Regions from separate parts of the Homo sapiens genome. Here regions 1, 2, 3, 5, 6 and 7 are each linked to region 4. The links are contacts of gene promoters, found by promoter capture Hi-C in human tissues and cell types (Jung and others, 2019). All regions are on one chromosome and are shown on one strand. The core of a region is centred on a gene start or on the middle of the fragment in contact, and the rest is flanking DNA. Distances in the headings are between cores, read along the strand shown.

Region 1 (3,092 bases), core at 147-2,646, 1.2 Mb before region 4:
TCTGACAGCTTGTAATAAGATATGAGAGCAAAGGAATGACTGAAAGTTGGAACTTATAATTAAAAGGGAAGCAGAGCAGAAAAGTTTAGAAAATTTACAACTTGGCCATGTGGTAGAGAAGGAAACAGAATTTTCGGGAGAGGAATACAAGTGGGCTGTGGAGCAACCACTTGCTAAATAAATTAGCGTGACTAAAAACGAGCCAAGGGCTAATAAACGAGACAATGGGCAAAAAGCCTTGAACGCATTTCAGAGACCTTACAGGAAGCCCCTCCAATCACAGGCCCAGAAGCCTAGGAGGATAGAATGGTTTCAGGGATCAGGCCCAGGCCCAGGGTCCTGCTGCCCTGAGCTGCCTTAGGAGGCTGCTCCCCAAAACCCTGCCTCTCAAGCTTCAGCTACAGATCAAAGCACCCCAGGTGCAGCTTGAGCTGCCACTCTGGAGGGCACAAACAGTAAGCCTTGGCAGCTTTCATGTGGTGTTAAGCCTGCAGGTGTGCAGAATGTAAGAGTGAATGAGGCTTGGCAGCTTCTGCCTTGATTTCAGAAGATGTATTGGAAAGCCTGTATACTCAGGCAGAAGCCTGCCACAGGAGTAGAGCAACCCTCCCACCTTCCACAGAGCTTCTACTAGGTCAGTGCTGAGGGAGAAATGTGGGATTGGAGCCTGCACACAGAATCCCCTCTGAAGTACTGCTTAGCTGAACCATGGGGATGAGGCTGCTGCTCTCCAGATCCCAGAAAGGTAGAGCTACCAACAGCTTGCACTCTGAGCCTGAAGAAGCTGCAGGTTCTTAACTCCAACCCATGAAAGCAGCCACAGGGGCTGCACCCTGCAAAGCTGCCCAAAACCTTAGGAGCCCACCCCTTGCACCTGCATGCCCTGGATGCAGGACATGAAGCCAAAGACGATTATTTGGAGCTTTAAGATTTAATGAATGCCCTGCTGGATTTCAGACTTGAATGGAGCCTATGGTCCCTCTCTTTTGGTTGACGTCTCCCTTTTGGAATAGGAATGCCTGTACCACCATTGTATCTGGGAAGTAAATGTCTTTTTAAAAAAAATCTTACAGGCTCATAGGTGCATGGAATGTGCTTTGAGTCTCAGATAAGATTTTGGGCTTTCGAGTTGATGCTAGAATAAGTTGAGACTTTGGGGGACTATTGGGAAGGGGTGATTGTATTTTGCAATGTGAGAAGGACATGAAACTTGAAGGGCTGGGTGAAATAGTTTGGATGTTTTATCCCCTCCAAATCTCATGCTGAAATGTGACCTCCAATGTTGAAGGTGGGCTTAGCGGGAGGTGTTTGGGTCATGGGGGTGGATCCCTTTTAAATGGTGTGGTGCTGTACTCATAGCATAAGTGAGTTCTTACTCTCTGAGTTCACATGAGATCTGACTGTTTAAAAGAGCCTGGCACCAGCCAGATATGGTGTCTCATGCCTGTAATCCCAGCATTTTGGGAGGCCAAGGCAGGTGGATCACCTGAGGTCAGGAGTTTGAGACCAACCTGGACAACATTGTGAAACCCTGTCTCTGCTAAAAATACAAAAATTAGCCAGGCATGGTGCATGCCTGTAATTCTAGCTACTTGGGAGGTGGAGACAGGTGAATTGCTTGAACCAGGAGGCGGAGTTTGTAGTGAGCCAAGATCATGCCACTGCACTTCAGCTTGAGTGACAGAGCAAGACTCTGTTTCAAAACAACAACAACAACAACAACAACAACAACAACAACGAGATCCTGGCAACTCCTCCCTCTCTATCTTGTTCTCTCTATCTTGCTCCCTCTCTCACCATATGCTAGCTCCTCCTTTGCCTTCTTTCATAATTGTAAGCTTTATGAGGCTTCACTAGAAGCCAATCAGATCCTGCTGCCAGGCTTGTATAGCCTGCAGAAACTTGAGACAAATAAATCTCTTGTTTAAATAAATTAGCCAGATTCAGGTATTCCTTAGCATCACAAAGGAACTATAACACGTTAATGTTTATTTTCTTTTTCCGATTAGTTTGGCTAGATGTTTATCAATTTTGTTGATCTTCCCAAAGTATTAGCTTTAGGTTTCGTTAATTTTTATCTACCATTTTTCTGTTTTCTGTTTTATTGATTGTTTTTCTGATGTTCATTATTTATTCTCTTCTGCTTACTTTTTTTTAACACTTATTTTATGTTCAGGAGTACATGTGCATGTTTGTTATATAGGCAAACTGCGTGTCACAGGGATTCAGTGCACAGATAATTTCATTACTCTGGTAATAAGCATAAAACCTGATAGGTATTTTTTTTCTGATCCTCTCTCTCTTCCCACCCTCAACCCTCAAATAGGTTCCAGTGTTTGTTGTTCTCCTTCTAGTATTCATATGTTCTCGTTATTTAGCTCTCACTTATAAGTGAGAATATGTGGTATTTGGTTTTCTGCTCCTGGGTTACTTTGCAAAGGATGATGACCTCTACTTCCATCCATGTTCCCATGAAATACATCATCTTGTTCTTTTTTTAATGGCTGCATAATATTCCATGGTGTATATGTACCAATTTTCTTTATCCAGTCTTTCATTGATGGGCATTTAGGTTGATTCCATGTCTTTGCTATTGTGAACAGTGCTGCAATGAACATTCATGTGCATGTTTCTTTATGGTAGAATGCTTTATATTCCTTTGGGTATTGTACTAGTTTGTTTTCATGGTGCTCTGAAGAAATACTCAAAAATGGGTAATTTATAATGAAAAGAGGTTTAATTGACTCACAGTTCTGCATGACAGGGAGGCCTCAGAAAACTTACAATCATGGCAGAAGGAGAAGTAAACATCCTTCTTCACATGGTGGCAGGTGAGAGACTGCAGAACTGAGGGAGGAAAAGCCCTATATAAAACCATCAGATCTCATGCAAACTCGCTCGCTATCATGAGAACAGCATAGGGGAACTGCCCCCCATTATCTAATCACCTCCCTCAAGGTCCCTCTCCCAACACGGTGGGATTACAATTCAAGACGAGATTTGGGTGGGGACACAGAGCCAGAATATACCATTCCAACCCTGCCCACTCCCAAATCTCATCTTTCTCATATTTCATAATACAATTATGCTTT
Region 2 (3,375 bases), core at 208-2,707, 1.3 Mb before region 4:
GCCGCCTGGGGAGGTGGTATGGTGAGATATGGTGATGTCATATTCTCCCAGGTCACTCTTAAGCCATGCTTAATGCTTAATGGGCATTCTTTGTAGGAATGAGATCACTCGTCCCCCTCCTCCCGTGATCCTTCTTTCTCTCCTCCCCAGTGTGTGGAAGCGGGTGGTACAGTCAAAACGGTAAACGATCACATTCTAGAAACACAATGATTTGGCCTAAATAACTTAAGAGGAGAAATAGATGGTAGGTATGTTGTTCTGTACTTAGGCTATAAAGTAACAAATGGTAAATTTAACCTGACCAGCATATAAATCATTGTTCACATTTTCCTGTATACTTTGGGTAAGACTGGAATTTATGTTCATAATCAAATAAATACAGTAACAACTTCGAGGGTCACTGGAAGCCAGTATCCCTAGGTGGCACAATGGGTGATGTGGCTTATGAGTAATCATGTAAATAGCATTAAATAAATAGCATTAGGAGACTGCAGAGGCTAGAGGATCAATATTGTTTCAGTACAAACAGGTTTCAAAAAGCCATGGCAGGATGCAATGGCTCACACCTGTAATCTCAGTACTTTGGGAGGCTGAGGCGGGAGGATTGGTTGAGACCCAGAGTTTGAAACTAACCTGGGCAACACAGTGAGACCTTGTGCCTACACACACACACACACACACACACACACACACACACACACACACAAATTAGCCAAGCATGATGGCCCCCACCTGTGGTCCTAGCTATAGGGGAGGCTGAGAGAGCCTAGGAGTTCAAAGCTACAGTTAACTATGATTGTGGCACTGCACTCTAGCCTGGGCAACAGAGTGAGATGCTGTCTCAAAACAAACAATGTGCACACATACACAGGCATGTGTGCACACACACACACCCACAAACCCACACCCCCATACCCACACACCCACACCCCCATACCCACACACACACTGAGCCATGCATTGTGAGTAATGAGTATGCTACTTTTTTCTCATGATGGGCGTTATGAAGCTTGCCAGAAACCACACATTTGATTGTATAGAACAAAAAGAAATGGCTTCTGGCCCAGAATGGGCAAAGATGGTCCCTGGATACTACAAAGGATATTCATGTGTCTTGATAGGACAACAGACGTATACATAAATTTCTCATCTACTCATTATTCTAAGTCTTTGTTGACACATCCCTGTACCTCCTACAGGACCATTAATTTTGTAATATTCCATAAAGTTGTTTATATAGACAGGGGTTTCACAAAAATATTTTTGGGGGCTCTGCACACCCTATGGAAAGCTCTGGCTGTGGCCCCTGTAGTGCCACCTGATGAAAGAAAAATGTGGGCTGGGCACGGAAGCTTATGCCTATAATCCTAGCACTTTGGAAGGCTGAGGAAGGTGGATCACTTGAGGTCCGGAGTTCGAGATCAGCCTGGTCAATATGGTGAAACCCCATCTCTACAAAAAACACAAAAATTACCTGGGCATGGTGGCATGTGCCTGTAATCCCAGTTACTTGGGAGGCTGAGGCAGGAGAATCACTTGAACCATGGGAGACAGAGTTTGCAGTGAGCCGAGATCTCACCACTGCACTCCATCCAGCCTGGGGGACAAGAGCAAAACTCCATCTCCAAAAAAAAAAAGAAAAGAAAAGAAAAGAAAAAAAAGATAAAAGTGAAAGAGGAGAAGTCTGATGAAAAAAGGCACATGTCAGTCTAAACTGATTGAGGTAAAAATCTTTTTGTCAAATTTACAAAAACATATGGCCATTGAATACCTTGCAAACTCCTCTCCCACAGCCCATGCAAAGAAAGGGCCCTGAAACTTGAGGCCTTGAAGCTTCACTGTAAACTATCTCTGCCAGTTAACTTGAATCTCCAAAATGGTGGTGTTCATGCAGACTACTAGTGAGGCTTCATCCAGACAACGGGTTCAGGGTTTATTTAAAAATAAAATCATTGTTAAAACCTTTGATTTTTTTATACAATCCTCTCTGCTGCATCCTACTGTAAACCCTGCAGAGTGACTTTTTTTCCCCACACAATTGACCTTAATAGCAAATACAGCAGAATTTGATTAATTCATCTTATATGTCCATAATTAATGTAAAAGGGCCAACAGTCTCTCAACTCTCTTCTCAGAAAAGATCTAATAATGGAGTTCAAGTGCAGTTTAATATGACCTAATTTTAAGAAATATAATAGCTGGAGAATTACTTTGAAAAGCGAGGAGTGCTATGCAAATGTAAAGTATCCTCATTATTATTGCTATTATTAGTGGAGTATCTATAAGTGTATTTGCTGCATTGAAAAATAAAAAGCAAAATAGTCTCTTGACATCTTTCTCTCTGGGCTCCTTGAGGGATCATATCTGTCTTATTAACTGTAGTATACTGGGCACCGAGCCAGGTGTTCCTGGTATTTAGTGGTACTTAAGAAGTATAAGTTGAATTAATGGATTAATAATCTCTGATCATATGTTTAGGTTATTTTACTTTTACAAATTTTATGCTGTGATGAATAATTCTTTCAATACTAAATTTTACTGAAATGTAAGTGTTTTCTAAGGATGAATTTCAAGAAGTTTAAAATTTCTAGAAGTCTAATGTTTAGGCTATATGCTTTATGCATTTTTAAGGCTTTTGATACATATTGCCAAACTACCTTCTAGAAATGTTCGTTTGTTCAACAAGTATTTATTAAATACTTATTGGTGTCCAGGCATTGTTCCAAGCACTGGGGAAAAACAGTGATGAATAAGACATACCATCCTCCTGGAGCTTATGTTTTACTCAGAAAGAAAGAAGATGAAAGATAACCAAATAGCAACAAAAAAAAGATGTAATTTGAGTAGCAATCAGTGCTATGAAGAAAAATAAAAGAAGCAAGAGAGTTGAGTAGATTTGTATTACTGTTTTTAAATATTCGCTTAACTCTTCCATTTATGAGTGACTATGGAAACGGGGAAGGAGGGAGGAAAATACTTGAGAAAGGCAAGTACTCAGACAATGGGGGATCAGTGAACACTGGCTCTGAAATTATGCTTATTCCTGAGGACCCAAAGAAATTCTACGGTCCACTAGTCAACTAGGGCCTTATGGTGTCCAAGCAATCAATGAAATTTTGCCCAAGTCTGTCTCACCATTGGCCAAGTGAGTCAATGGACTCTCCTGTGGTTATTTTTCCAGTTGCTAGAGATGTAATTAGAACAGAAATACTCAGACACATGATATAGTCACCTGTAGAGTGAAGTCCCTTATAGTAGGAAGGGAGATTGAGGAGATTAGCTGTACCATCAATGATTTATTATATACTCCATCACCCAGAAGCAGCTGGCCTGAGAGAGTCACAGAATGACCAAATAAAGGTTGAATTAATTTTT
Region 3 (3,273 bases), core at 138-2,637, 1.4 Mb before region 4:
TCCCAAACCTCGTTTTGGGTTTGTTTTGATGGGGTGCCAGGGATTTATTCCAAAAGATGCACACACTTTCATATTTTTCTTCTGCAGCAAAGAGTTCAGGTCAGAGACATAGAATAAACAGATCTACAAATGCATCTCTCAGTAATCTCAGATTCTTATTTATCATTTGACCAGGCTTATTTTCTAGATGACCGTAGAAAAATTATAGGAACTAAAAAATTTCTTTGCTCTACTAGTGATCAGATGTTCTTGGTTTTTCCAAATTCTCAATATAATTTATTCTTATCTAAAAAGGTGATAATTTGATAGTGTAAAAATAAAGAGTACTTAATTTTATATCATTGAGATACTTTTCTAACGATTCCTTTTATGTCAGTTTACACATAGGAAAAATTCCTTCATCAGACTGTGCCACTGAATTCTGGTTTCAGAAATTGGAGTCCCAGTGACTATAGACCTATGTCCAATAGCACAGAAAGAATATTCAAGCTGAGTTAAAAAAAAATCAAGAAGTATTGTGGTATAACAACATGGTTTATGTATCTTCATCAGAACCAAACCAAGAACAACAAAATCTCGTTAACTTAGGTTCTCTCCTCACATTGGATAAGTGGCTGAAATTAGATGATGAGTTTGATTGTTTGTTGGGCTTGATACTAATTGGATTAGCTTGTTTCTGTGTGTCCTTGATCTACCCATTTAGGCCCAGACACACAGCCAGGGTATTTATGGGTTTCCAGTGAACTAACAGGCAGAGCTCAGTGCTGAAGACAGAAGACGATTAGATGACAGCGAAGAGATGGGATTTTCCTTGGAGGGGTGTGTGTGGGGTACCCCATCACGAGGCATACAATAATCACTAAGGAAGACACAGTAAAACAACAGAGCCCTGCCCAGAGTCAGACAAATGAGCAGCTGCTCAGGAGAGTTGGTTAGAGTTACTTTAGCAGTGTGATAGAGATTTCTGGAAAGCCTTCTTCCATCTTCCACTCAAGCAGCCTTTAGAGGAAGAAAGGCTATAAGCAGAGCCATAGAGATAGATTCAGGGAGAGAAGGAGGAAGCCCAGGCAGGAGCAGCCAGTTTGGGGTGGGTAGGTGGAGAATATGAACTTGGATTCTGAAGGAGGTGAGGGCATTCAGGAAGGTTCAGAAGGTCAGAGGAAGGTGATGAAATCCTATGAAGGAGACATCTTAAGGAGCTGAAATTTAAAATGAAGTTAAGGACTGGTTAAATAACCATCCTGGCTGAAGAGATGAAGGAAAATTTCAGAAGATGGGCAAGATATTTCCTAGCCCCAAGGAAAATCAATGTATTAGTCCATTCTGACACTGCTAATAAAGACATACCCAAGGCTGGGTAGTTTATAAAGGAAAGAGGTTTAATTGGCTCACAGTTCAGCATGGCTGGGGAGGCCTTGGGAAACTTACAATCGTGGTAGAAGGGGAAGTGAACGAACACACCCTTCTTCACATGGCAGCAGGGAGAAGAAGAATGAGACCTAAGCTAAGGGGGAAGCCCCTTATAAAACTATCAGATCTCATGAGAACTCACTATCAGAAGAACAGTGTGGGGGAAATTGCCCCCGTGATTCAATTATATCCACCCGGTCCTGCCCTTGACATGTGGGGATTATTACAATTCAAGATGAGATTTTGGATGGGAACACAGTCAAACCAGATCAGTTAACAAACCTGAACACTGGACTCACATTGATTCTTTTCCTTTTGCTTGCTCCTAGGTATGGTTTTTAGTGTACAGTCTTACTTTGTGATACTAAAAATCTAATTCCCCTCTTTTTTTTCTCCCTTCCATTATGAAACCCTACTTATGGATTAGAACTAGCAGCTAGAGGTCGATCCCCACAAGGCAGATTTTTATTTTGGTGGCAGGTCAGAAGTAGGGTATTGGGTTCTCCCCTGCCCTTTCATCTCCCAGTGAGGACTATCAGACATCAGCAGACAGATCAGCCTGGAGTTAGCTGCCAGTTCCCAGGGCACATCTGCCTGTGCTGGCTTGTTTGAGGTGACTTCCTTTGAGGGCAACAAACCAATTCTCATACCTGAACCAAGTCATCTAAGCCTCCCAGAAAGGGTGTGTTTCACTTGTACTGACACAGGGAATATGATTCTTGTTCTTTTGAGTAAACAGTTCTATACAGTAGAGGGTGGGGCCAGATTAGAAAACAAAAGCCTAGAATTATATTGTTTCTCTAGCACCAACCTCCCTGGGGTGAGCTCACTGCTCAGAATGACACTCTTCTAGTCTGACCCACCTTTTTTGATATATAGGGTGGCGTTTAATGTCCTCTGCTCTGTTGCAGCTGGAATTCACCTCTTTTGCATGCCAGTTATAATCAGACAGAGTCCCTTTAAGATCCCCAGATAAAATATGTGTAGATATGTCAGTTGTTAACCTGCATTCGATTGATGCACAATTTTCATTTCTATTTAGACATGTTTGCTTGAGAAATACTGATAATACCAACACGTATTCTTTAATGCTATTGGAGCTAGTGGCAAAGTACCCTATTTTCTACTTTATAGTTAGTTTTAAAATTCAAACTATAAATGTGAATTACTTTTCTGTCTGATTCCTCTGGTGTAGGTTATTGTTATGCTAATTCAGGTGTATGTCTTCCCAGACCTTCTAAGTATATAAATCTTGTGTTCTTTTGAACAAATTGGGTGGTTAATCCTTTAATCAGTTATTGAGAGATTGCTACAAGCACAGAGAGAAAGCTGGACTTCTAAGCTTAACCATTTGAAGGTCGACATTGTTATGCGTTTGGTGTTTCTCCTTTGTTTTTTTTTCTTCTATTAAATGGGAAAGTTAGGCTAATCCTACAGGAAGCACTTTCCTTGAAAGTGGAAAGATGGAACCCTGGGAAGAGAAGGAGTTCTAGTGATCTAAACCATAGGTAATGCTGCTTATGGGAGCAGTCTCTTGCTCTCCTTCTTTCTGTCCCTCTCCTCCTACATCACCTTTTACATGTGTTAAAATCCTTAGCCAAATTAAATTTAACAGAGTTCAATTGAGCAAAGAACAATTCGTGAATCCAGCAGTCTCCTGAGCCAGAGTAGGCTCAGAAAGATTCCATGCCAGGCACGTGGTGGAAGAAGATTTATGGACAAAAAAGGAAAGTGATGTACAGAAAATGGAAGTGAGGTACAGAAACAGCTGGATTGGTTTCAGCTCAGTGTTTGCCTTATTTGAACAGAGTTTCAACAGTTGGCCTCCTATGATTGACCAAATCTCGGTGAGTGGCACAAGAG
Region 4 (3,304 bases), core at 473-2,972:
GTCTGTGGGCAGGTGTATAAATCTCTCAGAGCCTCCGTCTGGAGGGCTCCGGGTACCGGCTGCCCAGCCAAGGCTAAGTTGGTTTTTGGCTCCCTCCTTCGGAACAGAGAAAACGATAGATTACACAGGGATGGATGGACGGATGTCTGGAGAGATGGAAAGATGAATGGATGGATGGATGGGTGGATGGATGGATAGATGAATGGGTGGATGGATGGAGGGATGGATGGACGGACGGACGGACAGATATATGGATGGATGCATTATGGATGGATGCATGGACGGACGGACGGATGCACGGAGAGATGGATGGATGCATGGATGGATAGATAGACGGATGGACGGACGGATAGATAGATGGATGCCGGAAAGGAGAAGAATGAGAGACGGATGTGAGACTAGATGCACGCAGGCCAGAGCACCAGCATACGCTGGAACAGAGCACGAGCATACACTCGAACACACGCGCACACACTCAGGACATCTGCGCACAGACATACAATCCTCCGCGTCCGCTTCCACGCAGGCATTCGCGCACCTACATACACGCAGTTGCACGCGCGCGCACACACACAGGCACACACACGCAGACATGCACACACACGCAGACATGCACACACACCACACATGCAGACATGCACACACACGCAGACATGCACACACACACCACACATACACACACACACACACACAGTTCGCCTCTCCCTGGGTTTCTCAGAAACTAAATGATCACCGCCCCCCCGCCCCGCCCCACCTCCCGACACAGACACACAGGCACATACAATCCTCCCAGCACGTCCGAACGGATGCACAGAAAACTGAGCACCCAGACGGGTCCCGTCGACCCCGCACGTTAGCTCTAAACTGTGTGCAATTCTGGGGCGAAAAGCTAAAACTCGACTGCGTTCAACTTGCCGGCGGGTTCCCCAAGTCTGCGGGGCGAAGAGCTCGGGCCCCTCAGGCCCGCAATCGCACCCTCGGGGCGCTGGGCTTGGCGAGGAGAAAGGTGTCTGACTCCGGGTGCTAGAAATCAGGTCACTGGCGCCTGACGAGCGGCGCCACGACCGCTGCGCTGCGGAGCAGGCCCCGCAGCCCGGTCCCGAGAAGCGCAGGGCTCGGGAAACTTTGCAGAAACCAGAGCTCGAAAGGCTTTCGCTAGAATCCGGGAGCACCAAGCCTTCACTGTGCTCCAGGCTGCGTTTTCCCCTCGCCCCGGGCTGGCTCAGGAGAGGACGTGGTTCTTGTAATTTTTTTTTTAAATCCCGGCGTTGTCTCCCGTGCATCCCCTCAGGGCGCCTCGAGCGGGCCTCTCTGGCGGATGCTGATAAACTTTGGCCTTTGGTTACAAACTTGGACAGACCCGCCGCGTGCACGGGTCACCGCCTCGGGGCAGGCTGTCCGGCGGTTCCCCGCTGCCCCTTCGCCGATCCCCTCGCCTCAGCCCCCTTCTCCCGAATCGGGACGCACCATTCACACTGGGCTCCCCCCGCACCACCTGGCCCTGCGCTCCTGAGGACCCCTCACCCGCGATGGCCCCTCGCTGTCCCCGACCACAGAAAGGCCGTCCCGCTCTTACCTTCATTCGCGGGGTATACCCTGGAACCTGTGACAGCGTCGCAAATCCCGAAGAGACACGAAAATAGGGCGAAATAGAAAATCCCAGCCATGGTTCGCCGGTGCCAACGCTGCTCCTGCCGCTTCTATCCCAGTGGAATAAATGCTTAAGTTAGGAGAGCAGCGGGCTGAAGACATTGCCAAGGGGGCGGGCCCGGCCGGTGACGTGAGCCCGCCAGTCCGGGGCCCGCGGCCAATGGCGGCGCAGACAGGGCGGCCGAGCCCCGCCTTCACCGAGCAGGGCCCGCCCCAGGGTTCCGCCCCCTCCGGGCTCCACGGGGCGCGCGGTCTCCCGGGGCTCTAGGGGGCGAGCACGGCCGGTCCCCGCCCCCGCCTGCCGGAGGGAGCCAGCGGGATCCCCCACGTTACCTCGAAGGTCGAGCCCCTGGACGGCGGAGGGACTTTGGAAAAGCTCGGAATTGACCGAGGGGAGCCAGAGAAGAGGTTGGAAACCTTTTCTCCCACCACGGGCGGTTTAAGATGGAGGAAAACGCTCTTTTATTGAAATAAAAGAAGTCTAAGCTGACCTGCGGTTGCTTCTTTAGGAGAGTCGACGTGTCTGCGTCCAGCGCGCCCGGGCTGAGCTGCAGACTCGCGCCTGCCACCGCCACCCTCTGCCACCTTGCCCTGTTTTGTCTTTATGGCGCTTCCCCCTCTGAAATACTCTTTGCGGGGAGTTTTGTGGCTCTATCACTCGCTTCTTCCCTGGCTCCCCAGATGCCTGGAGAGCGGGGACCTACTTGGTCCCCAACGTCCAGTCCGCAGCAGGGCTCCGTCACTGTCTCCAGAGACTGAACGAATGACTTTCTAGCAGTAAGGAAGTCCCCGCTGGCCCCGTCCCCCTGCACACGCCGTGGACCTCGCCCAGGGCCCAGGACGCCCCGAGATGGCCTTGGGCAGGGAACCAGTTGTGGATTTCCCGGGGGCAGGGTTGGGGGCAGTCCCTGGAACCGGGCCTAGCCCGTCTGGGAGCGGTGGGGTAGAAGTGAAAGGCTTAAGTGTGGGTGCGGGGACTTGCAGCCGCACAGACAAGGCAGACCGGGACTGGGAAGCTGCCCGGAGCGGCTGCTGCGACTCTCCGCTCCGACCTAGCCGGGGCAGCCCTCCCTGCCCCGGGAGAAGACGGCGAGCAGGAGGACCCGCAGAGCCCCGCCCGGCTGCTCCGGCCCCGGGGGCACTGGCACCATCGGGCTGTGGTCTTTTCCCGATGCCCGAGCCGTGGACGCGGCCACCTAAGAGCGGTCCGGCGAAGGCAGCGCAGCCGGTGTCCCAGGGACCGGTCCCCAACGCCACTCGGTGCATTTCCCCAGGCGCTGGCAGGGGCACTGATTCCTAGCAATGAGGCCTCCCTTCCCCTTCCCAGGCCGCCCCTCCTCTGACTCCCTCCAGAGCAGGGCCGAGTTTTCCTGGGGAGCCTGGGTCCCGGCGGCCGGGCGGCCGCTGGGAGGTGGAGGAGCCTCTCCAGCCCCGGCCGCAGCTCATCGTGAGCCAACCGCGCCACCTGCCGGCCAGATGCGGGAGTGTGCGGCCCCGGAGGAAGGGCGAGCGGACAAAGACCGCAACCCGCAATCCGCAACCCCGCAGAGAGGTGGTGCGTGCGTTTGGGCGAGCTTTTCAGCCACCGCCAAGTCTCGTGCACTAGGGCTACTCCTACCGTGGGGCTGCGGACAGCGCTCAAGAGGTCCTGGAG
Region 5 (3,056 bases), core at 90-2,589, 1.2 Mb before region 4:
AGTTAATGTGCATTCCAGGTGGGTTTGCTTCTTGCACATCTGCAAAGGTCTTCTGTTGGAGTGACAGTAAAACAGAAGAGGAAAAACATCCAGGTTTCTTTCCAACTCAATTTCATGCCAATAACTATGTATATATTGAGCATTCATTAAATGAAAAGCTCTCTGTTAGGTGCTGCTGGGGATGAACAGGACATTGTGAAGGGGTAATTGTTCACCCTAGTCCTGATGTTTTTTTTTCCCTGAGTAAATCTCCTGCCTTTTCTCTACCCTGTAGCTCACTTCCCATTGCTGAAGTTGGGGGACATATTGACTAGGAAACTTGGGAAGAACAACTGGCTTGATTCTGCCCTTTTTCCAGGGAGCCCGCCTCCCTGTGCAGGGTATTTGCTCTGAATTGCTTTGTTCCATGGCACCTTCTGCTGCTAAGTTGTTGTCAGGAGGACGGGAACTGCAGTTTTCAGGTAAATGACTTTATAACCTTCCAGTATTTTTGGTATTGGTCAGAGGTATTGAAAAATTAAAATGAAAGAGTGAAATTTGGAAAGCAAATTATACTTGTGGCAAGATGGGCCAAGATGCGCAGTGTTTAGTCATGGAATTAGTATGAGAGAAGGGTCCTCTGACTTTGGTGATTTGTGGAGGTTTGAAAAAACTGCAGATGCATTTTTATAGTTATGTAGCTGACATTTAACTACTGTGACCTGGGTGAGATCTTTAAGACAGCCACACGATATTTTGTCTTTGGTGAATGATGGAAATTTATAGAGGTTTTGTCCATAGGCAAGAGGCTATTTTTATGGAGAGAACAACATCTGTGGGAAACTTCAGCTAGTTCACGGGGGTGACAGAGAGCTCACACCTTGGTTTCTTGCAAAGGTCTGGCTGATAGACTTGAAGCTGAGACATGTGATTATTGAGCAAGAGCTTCTCCATTGGCCTTTTAGGCATTGGTGGGTAGAACAATACTAGCTGCATTTAAAGGTCAAGGCAACTGGGTTTTACAAAGCACTGGTGAAGTTCTAGCTTACTAATGTTAGGCCTGGATGTTAACCCAGTCAATGCTAGATTGGCTGTTCTGAATCCCACTCTGCATTCAGGAGCAGGGAGGAAGCTGTAGAGAGACTAAGCCTGAATTCATGTAAGTAGCCCACAGGTTCAAAAATGAAAAATATTCAAAGAACTTATGGGTGAGTTTCAAGGAGATTCAGTTTCTATAGGTGGGCATACATCCTAAAATCCATGCCAAAGAAAATACGGAATTCAAGTCAGAGGAAGCCAGTGTCTTGAAGAACGCATGGGGCAAAGGGTCTGGACTAGGCCCCTGAGAGCCTGGGCATGAAAATAGCATTAAAGCTTCAGTTCAGGGATCCATTTGTGGGGCATGGGGGAAGGGGGAACTTCAGCTGAAACAAATGTGGGAATGAAGTCAAATATCTTCTCTGGCAGGCAGATTTCCTTGGGCTAAGTAATTCTGTAAGAGAGGCATGGAAGTGGCCCATATGACAAAGACTGAACATTCCTGGTCAAAAGAGGGTGGATGTTATGATTAGATAGAGGCCAGACTCAGGGCAGTACCAGAAGGCAAGAGTGTATGGGAGAAATTAAGAAGTGTGGGATACAGGGAACACGTAAAATATTAACCCACATTGGTAGGTGTCTGCTCACTGAACTTCATAGATCGTGGATTTTAGGCAACTGATAGCCATACTTTGGCTAAAAAAAAAATGCTTACACCTTGCTCTTCTTCACTCAGATACCACTGAGTCACTGTTATGGTTTTGGCAATGCTATGTTCTCAGCTCATAATTTTGTCTCAGGCAGCTCCTTTAGGGGTTAGAGATTGGCTCTCTCCAAGTTTGGTGGGTGGATTTTCTTGGAAGCTTTATTAACTCCTAGGATGCTTTAAAACATGAAGCTCATCTAAGCTTTGCATTAGATTGATATAACTTCAAAGGCTTTGAATGAACCACATTCAAGTCTGAAGGAGACATCCCAAGCTGTTGCTGTTAAAGGGAACTAATGGAACCCCATTGGTGAAGACAGAGAATAACTGGAAGAGAGTTGCTATGGTTTGACTCTGTGTCCCCACCCAAATCTCATCTTAAATTATAATCCCCATGTGTCGAGGGAGGGACCTGTAATCCCCATGGGTCGAGAAAGGGATGTGATTGGATCATGGAGGCTATTTCCCCCACACTGTTCTCAGGATAATGAGTGCATTCTCAGGAGATCTGATGGTTTTATAAGTGTCTGGAAGTTTCTCCTTTGCTCTTCTCTTTCCTGCTGCCATGTGAAGAAAGTCTTTGCTTCCCCTTGCCTTCTGTCATGATTATAAGTTTCCTGAGGCCTCCCAAGCCAGGCAGAACTGTGAGTCAATTAAATCTTCTTTGTTTATAAATTACCCAGTCTCGGGCCATTCTTTACAGCAGTGTGAAAACAGACTAATACAAGGATGAATTCTAGGATTTAATTTTGTTTGACTGAACAAGGTAAAAGAATACAATTTGGACATGGATTCCTTTGAACTTCAATTGTTTTGGACTTTAACTGGCTCAATGGCATAAGACTTTTTTTTTAAGAGAGAAAAGTGGGCTACATAAGCAAAGGAAAACATGCTTGGGAAACAGAAGTCAACTTTAACTAAAGAGTTGGCTCTGAGTGGATGAGAAGTAGAGATAAAACTGTAAAGGTAACAGGAATGGAGTTTTTGAGCTGGAAGAGTACTTTGTGGTCATCTGGTCAAGTCTTGAAGTGGAATCAGGACACCTGTGTTCAAACCAACTCTACGCCAATTAGTAGCTATGTAACTTTATTCAAGCTAACATCATTTGCCTTCGGTTTGCTGATCATTATAATAAGGTTTAAATAACATATAATATGTGGAAATACCTAGTGGAATTCAGACATATATTAGGTGTTCAAAGAGGAATTCTTAAACTCATTGAATCTAAATCTATTCCCTCTCCCAATTTAGTACATGAGATAATTCGGGCTTAAAGAAGTTAACTTATTTAAGTTTCCAGAGTTAATAGTGGCAGAGATGAGATTCAATCTAT
Region 6 (3,143 bases), core at 35-2,534, 1.4 Mb before region 4:
GATGGCCACAAGGACTCTGGGTGCTCTAGGCCCCACTAGACGGATGCTGGGTACATCTGTGACCATTCCCAGTATGGAAAACCCAGCACAGATATATGTGAATGGCTCCCTGGCACCACACTTCTCTGCTTCCCTCTCCCACTTTGCTGTCCTCCTGCTCTCATCCCTTGCATCTTCAGTGTGTGGGTCCACACAGGCCCAACCTCACGGACACTGGAAAGCCTGGAATCCACACTTGGAAATCTCTTCTCCTCCCCAGCATAGCCTAGTGCTCCACACTGGCCTTTTTTCCTCCAACCCAACAAATGGCCATTCTGTCACCATTAACCTTTTTCTATTGGACAGAAACAACCCAATCACACTCACATTTACTTGTGAACGATTTGCTCTCTATTCTCCTAAGACAATATAAGGGTTTATTTACCTTGTGAAGGAAGGGTTAGTTAACTAAAGGGAGTGAATATTAGAGCCACGGTGATGTTGCCTGGTAAAGAAGGCCTCCCTCCACTAATCCCACAAGGACACCTGGGAAACAAGTCCCTTTTCTCCAGCAATGTTAGAAGTGTACTGTCTCTCCTTTCAGCTATAAAGTGTGATATATTTCCATAAGCCCAGACTAGGTAAACTTTCTTATGTTTTTGTATCTGGGAGCTTATTAGTGGACACTAGGTTCTCTTAATTGCTGGATAGCAGCATAGGGAATGCTTAATGGTACATGGAGAAAAGATGTTGACAAGGTGAAATAGATCTGGCACCTTAGATGTATTTGCATGTAGATGAGAATGTCTGATTGAAGGTGTAGCCTGTTTGTTTTTATTAACAGTTCCAGGATGGGCAGAATCTTAGAGGTTACCTTCTGGTGGGAAGGAGAGAAGAATTGTGTCTAAGAGTCAAGGAAACCTAACTTAAGAACTTCAGAAGCAAGTAGTGAATTCAGTGGTGGACAGGTGGAGATTGCTTGCCTGGCTTATAAATTGTCCTCTGTGTATGTCTGTGTACATTGGTACTGGGCTAGAGGCTCCCACGGCACTCCATCTCCAACCTTTTTGCCTCTCTCAGCTTGATGTGATGGTGCCAATTTCTGACTGATAAAGACATGCCTGACCTTGCCTCTTTCTGTGCTTGGATTCGTCAAGTGGGAGACACACAACTCCTCCTTTTGGAGCATTCTCTGGTCAATTAAATGTTCGGGCGATGGCTACTTGCACGAGTACGATTTATCTTAGCAGTGTGGACCTGGCCAACAGTTATCTCATCAGCAATTTGGGCAGTAAGGCCTTAGGTGGTGGTCAGGGCAGGTTAGCAATTAGTTAAGGATTCAGCCCGACTTCACTTACGTAATGTGGAGCATGAGATGTCTGCTGTGCCTGTCACACCTGAGCAAAGGGTACTGCAGCCTCAGTCACTCACCAAACAAGACTGCAATCTGAGGTTGTTAGTCACATTCTGGAGGCGGACCCCTAGTGGGGGTTTCTTAGCTGTTGCCTGGAAGAAAAGAAGAAATTTGGGCTTCACTTAGCAGATGCCACTGTTCTAGTTTCTAGGGAGTACTACCCAACTGGGACATTCAGATGTATCTTTAGATATATCTTTAACCTATATATATATATTTTTTTTTTGAGGCAGACAGGAGTTTTATTATTAGTCAAATCAGTCTCCCTGAGCTTTTTAAGGACAGACTTTTTAAGGACAACTTGGTGGGTATGGTGCAGGGAAGCCAGTGAGCTGCGAGTGCTGATTGGTCAGGTCAGAGATGAAATCATAGGGAGTTGAAGCAGTCTTATTGTGCTGAGTCAGTTCCTGGGTTGGGGGCACAAGATCGGATGAGCCAGTTTATTGATCTGGGTGTTGCCAGCTGATCCATCAAGTGCACGGTCTACAAAATATCTCAAGGCACTCCTCTTAGGTTTTACTATAATGATTTTATCCCTAGGAGCAATTTGGGGAGGGTCCGAATCAGAATCTTGTAGCCTCCAGCTGCATAACTCCTAAACCATAATTTGAATCTTGTGGCTAATTTGTTAGTCCTACAAAGGCAGTCTAGTTCCCAGGCAAAACAAGGGGTTTGTTTAGGGAAAGGGCTGTTATCATCTTTGTTTCAAACTATGCACTATAAACTAAGTTCCTCCCAAAGTTAGTTTGGTCTATGCCCAGGAAGGAACAAGGACAGCTTGGAGATTAGAAGCCAGTTGGAGCTGGTTAGGTCAGATCTCTTTCATTGTCTCAGTTATAATTTTGCAATGGCAGTTTCAATCCCTCCCTTTGGGTTTTATAACACCTTAATCCTAAGGTGTTGGTTAATGGAGATGGGAAAAAGGTGAGGACCACTCTTCTTCCTGCTGACCCGTGGTGTAGTTGGGGTAGGTGTTGACCCCAAGGCGAGAGGAGTGGAACTGCTTTGCAACTGAACATATTCACGCAGGCCTGGTTGGGATTCCAAGGCTTGCATGACAAAGGCATTAGTATTGTCATCTATAGTTTTAGTACCGCCTTCAAGAGAACAACGTATTATAAGGTAAATAATGAGTACTAAGATAAGGAGTGCAATTCCCACTTTTAAAAGTGAAGATTTGAAAGCATTAGTTTGGGGACTTGTAGTCCACAGAGAATTTAGGATTTAGTCCAAACTGCAGAAAAAAACTGAGAAACAACTAATAATAGGTGTACTATAGTTTTTTTGAAGCGTATTTTTTTGTCTCTCCAGTCCCCATTTTTATTAAGAATAAATCATGATAGGACTGATTTGTTTGCAAAATGAACTTTATTCTTGTTATACTTGGCCTGTTATTTGCATAAAGCACAGCAAGACTAATTATTAAATATTTTTACATAGGTTATTTTTAGTATTGGGTTTGCTGAAACTTTGTTTTATAAGGAATCTCAGACTGTACTTTTTAAAAGCCTTGAAACCCAGTCACAAATTTATCTATGCCTGCAAGTACCTGTGAATTTCTCACCTTGAGGTCCCAAGATAACTTGGGGCTCCTGGGCCTGTCAGAAAGTGACATTCTTTACTTACCACAGGTCAGGAATCCTGTAGAGGGACTGGGTAGACAAGGTATGAGGCCACCTTTCTTGAGAGACTTTTATTGGCTCTATAAGTCAACTTTGATTCCTTAAAGAAAGCATGCCATTTTGGTCAA
Region 7 (3,424 bases), core at 627-3,126, 1.3 Mb before region 4:
GACTCACCTGTATTTAGCAGTAGTAATATTTTAGAGTATGTAAAAATCTACAAGGGTGTCTGTCAATGGAAGGCCCTTCTTGCGATTCAGGATGAGATCTGTTTTAATAAAACCAAATTTTTGAATATGACCTAATCATGAATATAGACTGAATATAGCCTCCCCATATTGAGTCTTCTGAATCATTTTGAAGAAGGTGCTTATAAAGATACAAATCCATTTGATCCATAAATAAACATAAGATTAACAATGAAACCAAGCAATATTAAAGGTAACAGAAATTGCTTTCATTCATATATTTTCCCCTTGCTAGATCATTTATTTATCCTTGTATTCTTTCTCTTTCTTCCATCAAATACCTTTTTTATAAGCCTATTTTCAATCAGTCAATAAATAAGTAAAACTTATTGATATGGGTCAGCTGTGTCCCCACCCAAATCTCATCTTGAATTGTAGCTCCCATAATCCGCACATGTTGTGGGTGGGACCCAGTGGGAGGTAATTGAATCCTGGGGGTGGGTTTTTCCTGTGCTGTTCTCATGATAGTGAATGAGTCTCATGAGATCTGATGGTTTTATAAAGGGCAGTTCTGCAACACACTCTCTTGCCTGCCACCATGTAAGACGTGCCTTTGCTCCTTGTCCGCCTTCCACCATGATTGTGAGGCCTCCACAGCCATGTGGAACTGTGAGTCCATTAAACATCTTTTTCTTTATAAATTACCCAGTCTCAGTTATGTCTTTATTAGCAGCATGAGAACAGACTAATACATCTATTTACAACAGAATATGAACTCAAACTGGTGTGCTATTGTTCTCTTTTTACACTGTAAAAGAAATTTTGACATCAGCAAGTAGCATTTATTTATTTTGTAACAAAGGATCCCTCTCCTGATTCCTGCAGTTACTCCACTTCTGCAGGTCTGCCTCCGACAATATGTGTGGCAGAGATTGTATCCTCTCACATGTGTGCAGTGATTGTATTCTCTCACATCAGCAAACACTTCCTGCATGTTTACTATGTAACAGGCACTATAATAACTGTTTTGTATAGATTTTTCCATTAGATCTTAGCAACTGTGTGAGGTATGGGTACTATTATTGACCCATTTTATTGATGAGGAAATGGAGACACAGAGAGTTTAGGTAACTTGTCCTAAGTCACACAGATAGTGAGTGGTAGAGATGAGATTGAACCTGAGCAGTCTAATATAAGAGCCCACATTCTTAACTACCACCACTTTCCTCCCACTACAAATCCACCACAAATTAACAGTGGCCCCTATGTACTTCCTAGAAAGGAGGAGGGAAATTTGAGAAAAATGACAGAGTCTGAAGGTCAGAGTGGAAAGACCTCAAAGTTTATTGAATCCAGCCCCTCTTTGCTATAACTAAAGCAAAAGAGGAATAGGGATACTCATTTATCTGTTCGCATCCACCTAGCCGTCATGGGTGGCTGCATACTAGATCTGTTTCTGCAAGTCTCTTTCTGGTATACGACTTATAGGGATGAAGGCCCATTAAAGATTCATGTTCTATAGACAAATTTCCCTGCAGTCCTTTATTTAATTTCACCCGGTGTATCTAGGGAATTGACGAATGTCACTGTAAACACAGAAGGTTCAGGACTCCAATTGTGGGAAAGAAAAAAATCATTATTGATGAGAAGTTGGAAGAACTGAGCCTCAAATTGCATAGTAACACCCCAGTGTTTTCAACTTCCTTACGTCAACTAAATTTGTGATATTATTTATATTTAAAGCCTTCCTTGGTGAGGATGCAGATTTCCTGGGTTGAGGTATAGAGGCAGTTAATATCCAAGATGCCAGGATACGGCCACCAATGTGAATGCAGCTTTTCAGTGGAGCCCCTGAGCCATGCCTCTTCTCTGAGATCTCTAGTATTGCAAAGATGTGGGCTTCCTTTTTTTTCTTTCCTCCCCAAAGACTCTTATGATGGGCACTTTTAATTAGGACACTTCTGTTGCACAAACGGGATCTACATCTGACAGCTTCCTTCTCAACACATGTTTTCCCTCTCATTCATCCATCTTACTTGTCAGCCTCCTTTTTCCTCTGTGACTGTGTTTGAAATGCTGTCCCACACATCCTTCCATTATAGAAAGGAAATCTGACACCTGGGGAGGCAGTATTTCCTTTTACTCTCTAACGGCAGAGGGCATGCTGGCTATTTCTCAAAATAGCACAGTCAGCAGTATTGAGGAACATTAGTGCTTTGTAGAGGAAACCAATGAATATTTTTTTTCTGATGAGATGCAAATTGTACATTCTATATCTCCCATCAGTGAGAACATCATTTTGCCTTGTATAGTTATGCAAGCACCTTCACATCAATTAAGGGGCTGTGATGACACTGCTTTGACATCCCATTAGCCCTTGCCTTTAGTTATGTGTCTATTAGAAGCAGAAATAAAAAGTGATATTGCCAGTCAGAGGTGGAACTTGAAATATCCTGGTGTTCCAAGGCAGATAAAACATCATGAATCTAAGGTGTTTTGCTTGCTCCCTGATTGTTTGTCTTTGCAGCTAATATTGGGCTAAATTTTGAGTTCTGTGAGGGCAGGGACAATATCTTAGCTCTTACTGAGACACCGCGGTGCCTAGGGCAACATCTTGCTTATAACAGAATCAGAAATTATAGACTGTTCAATTGTGTCTTCATGTGTACCTTGAATATTTAATGAGTGGTCATGACATGCGGGCCCTGTGCTAGGTGCTCTTCTAACTGAGAAGGACTTTGGGGTTTAATTAACATAATTCTTCATCGTGGAGTCCTTCGTTCATCAAAAATTTATGGAGTGCTTACTAAGTGCAGAGATAAAAATGACATGGTTTCTGGGTTCAAGAGGATTCTAGTCTAGTGGAAGACCCTGAGCTCCAGAAACGTCAAGTGCCATGCCTAAAGCTACACACACCATTACTACAGAGGTACCAGACTTGGATCTCTTTACTCAAATACTTGATACTCATTTGAATCTTAGCATTCTAGAAATGTAGGGCTACAGGGTCATGCCACTCATTTGGAATTCAAATTCTTCAGCAACAGCTGTCAAATTGAATGTCCGTGGTATATTGGACAAGGGCTAGAGTGGCTCAAAAATGCCTGCTTATAAACATTTATCAGATGAATTGCTCTGAATTTTCTACTTACCAAAGATAATTGAATTTATTTTAGTGTGGCTTAAATATAGTAGACATCTTCAATAATGACAGAAACAGATGGTTTATATGGTGTAATTTCAGAGCTATGGAAAGGTCCTCTGAGTCTTTTAAAAAAACAACTCCTTTCCCAGTATCCCAGTGTGCCTAAAATTTGACCACTACTATGTTGTTTTGATTGTCTCTTTGAGGAGGCTGAGCTGAAGATAAATTTTAATGTAGGGGGAGTAGGTAGAGAAAGTGTAG

Evidence for each region. Contacts are between HindIII fragments. The study calls those that stand out against the background at their distance.
Region 1: a contact is called between a fragment that was not itself captured here and the fragment with the promoter of EPHA4 in region 4, in 1 of the 25 tissues and cell types used here (dorsolateral prefrontal cortex).
Region 2: a contact is called between a fragment that was not itself captured here and the fragment with the promoter of EPHA4 in region 4, in 1 of the 25 tissues and cell types used here (dorsolateral prefrontal cortex).
Region 3: a fragment that was not itself captured here is called in contact with the fragment with the promoter of EPHA4 in region 4 in 1 of the 25 tissues and cell types used here (lymphoblastoid cells).
Region 5: a contact is called between a fragment that was not itself captured here and the fragment with the promoter of EPHA4 in region 4, in 1 of the 25 tissues and cell types used here (H1 embryonic stem cells).
Region 6: a fragment that was not itself captured here is called in contact with the fragment with the promoter of EPHA4 in region 4 in 2 of the 25 tissues and cell types used here (heart right ventricle and lymphoblastoid cells).
Region 7: a fragment that was not itself captured here is called in contact with the fragment with the promoter of EPHA4 in region 4 in 1 of the 25 tissues and cell types used here (lymphoblastoid cells).

What each region holds. Positions count from the first base shown.
Region 1 is chr2:220,401,841-220,404,932 of GRCh38, forward strand. The region is part of intron 3 of LOC105373893 (a long non-coding RNA gene); the gene reads left to right. Among named protein-coding and RNA genes, the nearest start is that of MIR4268, 500 kb to the left of the region's middle. The HindIII fragment of the contact is 3,727 bases long and covers 1-3,092 here.
Region 2 is chr2:220,317,790-220,321,164 of GRCh38, forward strand. All of the region lies in intron 2 of LOC105373893 (a long non-coding RNA gene), which reads left to right. Among named protein-coding and RNA genes, the nearest start is that of MIR4268, 410 kb to the left of the region's middle. The HindIII fragment of the contact is 3,042 bases long and covers 1-2,978 here.
Region 3 is chr2:220,217,484-220,220,756 of GRCh38, forward strand. All of the region lies in intron 2 of LOC105373893 (a long non-coding RNA gene), which reads left to right. Among named protein-coding and RNA genes, the nearest start is that of MIR4268, 310 kb to the left of the region's middle. The HindIII fragment of the contact is 4,714 bases long and covers 1-3,273 here.
Region 4 is chr2:221,570,582-221,573,885 of GRCh38, forward strand. It overlaps EPHA4 (EPH receptor A4), which reads right to left and starts at 1,723. Exons shown (of 18, transcript NM_004438.5): 1 at 1,577-1,723. The coding sequence starts at 1,667. RefSeq lists silencers at 1,679-2,098, 2,699-2,978, 3,029-3,188. The HindIII fragment of the contact is 17,926 bases long and covers 1-3,304 here.
Region 5 is chr2:220,348,548-220,351,603 of GRCh38, forward strand. All of the region lies in intron 3 of LOC105373893 (a long non-coding RNA gene), which reads left to right. Among named protein-coding and RNA genes, the nearest start is that of MIR4268, 440 kb to the left of the region's middle. The HindIII fragment of the contact is 3,770 bases long and covers 1-3,056 here.
Region 6 is chr2:220,156,059-220,159,201 of GRCh38, forward strand. All of the region lies in intron 2 of LOC105373893 (a long non-coding RNA gene), which reads left to right. Among named protein-coding and RNA genes, the nearest start is that of MIR4268, 250 kb to the left of the region's middle. The HindIII fragment of the contact is 8,724 bases long and covers 1-3,143 here.
Region 7 is chr2:220,294,216-220,297,639 of GRCh38, forward strand. All of the region lies in intron 2 of LOC105373893 (a long non-coding RNA gene), which reads left to right. Among named protein-coding and RNA genes, the nearest start is that of MIR4268, 390 kb to the left of the region's middle. The HindIII fragment of the contact is 5,750 bases long and covers 1-3,424 here.